Regions from separate parts of the Homo sapiens genome. Here region 2 is linked to region 1. Evidence: promoter capture Hi-C in human tissues and cell types (Jung and others, 2019). All regions are on one chromosome and are shown on one strand. Each heading gives the region's core, a stretch centred on a gene start or on the middle of the fragment in contact. The rest is flanking DNA. Distances are from core to core; before and after follow the strand shown. Region 1 holds the start of PSMB4 (proteasome 20S subunit beta 4). Region 2 overlaps GABPB2 (GA binding protein transcription factor subunit beta 2).

What was found. Contacts are between HindIII fragments. The study calls those that stand out against the background at their distance.
Region 2: a fragment that was not itself captured here is called in contact with the fragment with the promoter of PSMB4 in region 1 in 1 of the 25 tissues and cell types used here (hippocampus).

The regions. Positions count from the first base shown.
Region 1 is chr1:151,398,256-151,400,969 of GRCh38, reverse strand. PSMB4 (proteasome 20S subunit beta 4) reads right to left here and starts at 1,397. Exons shown (of 7, transcript NM_002796.3): 1 at 1,243-1,397; 2 at 783-989; 3 at 382-528; 4 at 125-206. The coding sequence starts at 1,382. RefSeq lists a silencer at 670-827 and enhancers at 596-1,317, 1,668-1,717, 1,318-2,040. The HindIII fragment of the contact is 13,788 bases long and covers 1-2,714 here.
Region 2 is chr1:151,094,978-151,097,691 of GRCh38, reverse strand. All of the region lies in intron 4 of GABPB2 (GA binding protein transcription factor subunit beta 2), which reads right to left. Among named protein-coding and RNA genes, the nearest start is that of GABPB2, 26 kb to the right of the region's middle. The HindIII fragment of the contact is 4,570 bases long and covers 1-2,714 here.

The DNA.
Region 1 (2,714 bases), core at 148-2,647:
CCATCTGCCCAGTAATAGCGATCCCAGCCCATCCCTCATATCAGAATTTCAGGAGAAAAGCAGACAACCACTAATCCATTTCCTTTTGTCTTCCCTTTCCCCCACCTCTAGACTTACTACTTACCTGAGCCAAGTATGCACCATAACCAGTGGCCAGCGAAGGGGCTTCATAGGCTACACCAAGCATGTCCACATAACCGAGGAAGCTAACAGGACACAATGGGTCAAAACTCATTTCACCTTAGATTCATCTTAGCTGAAGAAGGGGACCATGGGGTCTGAGTTAAAGTGGGATTCACTTGGGGAGAAGAGACAGAAGAGATACTACACAGGTACTAGGTTGGGTGGTAAAGGAAATAAGTTATTTGTATTCATATGAACCTCTCTCCATCAGCATAGCCTCCGATGACCATGGTGTTCCACAAAGGGTTCATCTTCGAGCGCCGGCTGTACATGGCCCTGGTCAGCCATGAATGAATAGCTCTAGGACTATAGCTGTGTCCATCTCCCAGAAGCTCCTCATCAATCCTTAAAAGGAATTGGTTGTGAGAAAAGGGAGAGAATTAAGTCGGGGTCTCCACCCATCCCCAAAAGAAGTTACCACACCTTCCCCCATTTTACACCTAATGCCAAAAACTTTATTGCAAACACAGATCGCCCACCTCCAACAACTCTTCCAGTCCCCCGCTGCAACAAGTCCCCCCATCCCATCGAAGGGAATAAAAAACAGGGGACTCCCCTCTCTACTTGGGAACCACTCTCCTGTTCTCTGGATGACTTACACCATCTGGCCGAGAACTTGCTTCAAATACTGGAAATCAGCGTAGTCGCCAGAGGCACCCAGCATGGTACTGTTGTTGACTCGCATAATGCGAGAGATGTTGCGGAAACGAGCCAAGGAGCCGTAGGATCCCAGCATGTCTGCGGCAATCACCACTCCGCCCTCGAACTTAACGCCGAGGACTGAGGTCCCGGTCACCATGGGGTTCCTAAAGAGTGAGAACGGTGGGAGCTGAGAGGGGGGATGGACTGCGCCCTCTTTCCGCGCACTGAGCTGCGCTTCTGATTTTCTATAATTCCTTCCAATTATTCTGCATTCTCCAGGACTCCGCGCCCTGAGCTCCCCTGCCGTTCGCGCGCCCCCGGGGTCCCCGCCTCACCTTCCCGGGCTCTCAAAACCAGCCGGCAGCACCAGGCCCCACGGTCCCTCCCGCTACGCAAACGAAAGCGCCGAGAACTTACTGGGTCCGCGTGATTGGACCTCTGTAAAGTGCAGACGCCGGATCCATGAAGGAATCGGGAGTGGACGGAATGCGGTAAAACTGTCCTGGGGCCGGACCCCCCGCCCAAAGTCCGGACCGCGACCCCAAAAACGCTTCCATCTTAGTCACGGTAGCAGAAAAAATGAAAGCGCTTGCGCCAACGGAAGCGGAAGTGATCCTTCAGTGTCATTTCTTTCTTTTTCCTGTAGACGACTTCCAGCAGCCATGTTGATGAGGTCGTAGCTGAACATGCAGTAATCCTAGGTGGCGACCGAGACAGGGAGTTGAAATTGCCCAACATCGCTTCGCATCGCATCGCATCTCCGTGGAGTTTGGACCAGATCACAGCGTTCTAACACACGATTCAAGGAGGAGGGAGGCATGAAGGTGGGGTGGGGAGGTGGCCACTTAAAGACGCTGATCCTGAGTGAGACGTCACAATTTTTTATTTTATTTTTTATTTTTTTGAGACGGAGTCTCGCTCTGGCCCCCAGGCTGGAATGCAGTGGCGCGATCTCGGCTCACTGCAACCTCCGCCTCCCAGATTCAAGCGATTCTCGTGCCTTAGCCTCCCGAGTAGCTGGGATTACAGGCGCCTGCCACCACGCCTGGCTAATTTTTTGTATTTTTGCTAGAGATGGGGTTTCACCATGTTGGCCAGGCTGGTCTCGAACTCCGGATCTCAGGTGATCCGCCTGCCTCGGACTCCCAAAGTGCTGGGATTACAGGAGTAAGCCGCCTCGCCCGGCCTAGAAGTCACAGTTCTCATGTTCCTTTTGTATCATTATCAAAAAGCCCACATGAAAATATCAGTGAACACAGGATCTCTTACATCTGTACTCCTCAGAGCAGCCCCATGTGGCAGGCATTATTCGACCCATTTGGTAAATAGGAAACCGAGGCTTGCGGTGTAGTGATTTACCCAGTCACACAGCCGATAACGGTAGAACTGAATCTTGAAGCTAGAATAAAAAAAGGAATCAGGGCCGGGTGCGGTGGCTCATGCCTGTAATCCCAGAACTTTGGGAGGCCAAGACGGGAGGATCACTTGAACCCAGGAATTCAAGACCAGCCTTGGCAACATGGTGAGACCTCACCTCTACAAAACAAAACAAAACAAAAAATTAGCCAGGCCTGTAATTCCAGCTACTTGGGAGGGTGAGGTGGGAGAATCGCCTGAACCCGAGGGAGGTTGCAGTGAGCCAAGGTGGCGCCACTGCACTCCAGCCTGGGCAACAGAGCGAGACCCTGTCACAAAAAAAAAAAAAAAAAAAAAAAAAAAAAGAATACACTTGTGTATACCCTGTGGGGTGTGATAGCTCAGGTGGATCAAGCACTCTCTGTGGGACCTTAGACAAGTCTGAAAGTTTCCTTATTGTCAAGGGCCCTTGCCCACCTCTAAAGAAACAGAAAAATTCCATTGGAAGTGTAGGGGTGAAACTAAATTCCAGG
Region 2 (2,714 bases), core at 91-2,590, 300 kb after region 1:
TTCTCATGACTCACCCTCCCGAGCAGCTGGGATTACAGGCACACGCCACCACGCCCAGCTAATTTTTTGTATTTTTAGTAGAGGGTTTTGCCATGTTGCCCAAGTTGGTCTAGAACTTGTGGGCTCAGGCAAATCGCCCACCTTGGCCTCCTAAAGTGGTAGGATTACAGGCTTGAGCCACCGTGCCCAGCCCAAGAACACTTATTAGCTTTAGTTACACAGTTACTGAACAGCATATTCCACTCCCATCCCAATGCTCTATCAATTATAACTAGTTCCGGTACACAATGTCCCAGGGAGATCAGAGTTCTCATTAAGACCACCATTTTTTTTCAGACCAGGCCAACAGAGTTGTTAGGTTGCTTTCCAAAGCTTGTTCCTACTTCAGGAAAGCAAAGGTGTATCATTTGCAAAAACTTCTAGACAATTCAATCAACCTCTATGAATCTTGTTTTTTTCATTTGAAAAATGAGGGAGTCAGGCCAGGCACGGTGGCTCATGCCTGTAATCCTACCACTTTGGGAGGCTGAGGCGGGTGGACCACTTGAGGTCAGGAGTTTGAGACCAGCTTGGCCAACATGGTGAAACCCTGTCTCTACTAAATGCAAAAATATCAGCTGGGCGTGGTGGCAGGTGCTTGTAATCCCAGCTACTCGGGAGGCTGAGGCAGGAGAATTGCTTGAACCCAGGAGGCCAAGATTGCGGTAAGCCAAGTTGGTGTCATTATACTCCAGCCTGGGCGACAGAGTGAGACTCCGTCTCAAAAAAAGAAAAAAGAAAAATGAGGGAGTTGACCTGAATAGCCTAAAAAGTAATTTCCAGCACTAACATTTTATGATTAATTATCTACAAGTCAGTGTGCTAGCAAGAGATCCCTGCAGAGTATCTATAGAGAACAATATTCTCTAGAGTTTTGTCCAACTACTTGTTCCATTCGGCCATTGAAAAAATTCCTGAGAGAATATATAACAAGCAAATAAATAAGTGCCAGATTTTAAAGTCTCGCTCCATATGCTGTACTTTTGCTTCCAGGGATATCTGTTCAATTTTGGTGAAAAGTAGCTTATCTTTATTACTTTCAGAAGCAATTTTCTACAAACATAATCACTACTTTAAAAAGTCCAGTTATGAAAGGGCTCTAAACAAAGAATTGAAAGTTCAAGGGACTAACCAGTATATAGACCACCTGTCAATTAAAAAAAAATACTGAAAATGCAGCAGAAATGGCTTGCTTGCTTGCTTTCTCTGTCTCTCTCTCTCTCTTTTTATTTTTTTTTGAGACGGAGTCCCACTCTGTCGCCCAGGCTGGAGTGCAGTGGTGCGATCTCGGCTCACTGCAACCTCCGCCTCCAGGGTTCCTGCCTCAGCCTCCCAAGTAGCTGGGACTATAGGCGCACGCTGCCATGCCCGGCTAATTTCTTTTGTATTTTAGTAGAGACAGGGTTTCATCGAGTTGCCCAGGCTGGCGTTGAACTCCTGAGCTCAGGCAATCCACCCTCCTCAGCCTCCCAAAGTGTTAGGATTACAGGCATGAGCCACCACGCCCAGCCAGAAATGACTGTTTTTCATATATAATTATCCCCTTGACTAAGAGCTTCAAATGAAACAGGTTATCCATTCTTTGGATATTGTGAAATTCCTTTTTTTTTTTTTTTTTGAGAGTCTCACTCTTGTCTCCCAGGCTGGAGTACAGTGGCACGATCTCAGCTCAGCTCACTACAACCTCCACCTCCCAAGTTCAACCGATTCTCCTGCCTCCATCACCCAAGTAGCTGGGATTACAGGCACCCACGACCAAGTCAGCTAATTTCTGTATTTTTAGTAAAGATGAGGTTTCACCATGTTGGCCAGGCTGGTCTTGAAGTCCTGACCTCAGGGGATTCACCCACCTCGGCCTCCCAAAGTGCTAGGATTACAGGCGTGAGCTACCATGCCTGGCCTAAATTCCTTCTTGAATTTGCCCTTTTCCTTTATCCTCCACTAGGACATGAAGTGTTCACAGCACGATAAAATTAAAGATAGGAAATAAAATATTACAATATTACATGATAAACAGACATCTAGTAAGTGCTATGGGAGCACAGAGGAGGGAAGAGTAGTACTGCTACGTGGCGAAATAGTAGCACTTCCTTGGTTCAAGTTCTCATTGGCCCTTGCCTGGCCTAATGAAAGTCACCGTATAGTTATTTAGCATTAAGTGTCTCTCTCATCTGTGTGCCACATTCCAAACAATCATCTTTTTAAACCAAATTTAGTCATATCAGTCCTCTATTTAAAAACTTCTATCCAAATGCATCGCCCACATAATAGTTCAAACTCCTTCACACGCTGTAAAGCATCCCTACATTCAGAATCCAGCCTAACTTTCAAGCTTAGCATCTGCCACTCCCAAACTCTACTTCCTTTGCCCATTCTCTCATCACTCAACTACTTTTTCTTGAACATTCCACGTTCTTTCACACCTCTGTGTCTTTGATTTGCTCTTTTTCTAGGCTAGAATATAGTTTTCTCACTTCTCTGCCTACTTCAATATTCAGTTCAGATTCCACTATTCCCTCCTTTGTGCTCCCATGGCACTTACTAGATATCTATTTATTATGCAATATTATAATATTTTCTTGCCTGTCTTTACTTTTATCATGCTTTCAACACTTCATGTCCTATTAATTTTTTTTTTTTTTTGAGATGGAATCCTGCTGTGTCACCCAGGCTCA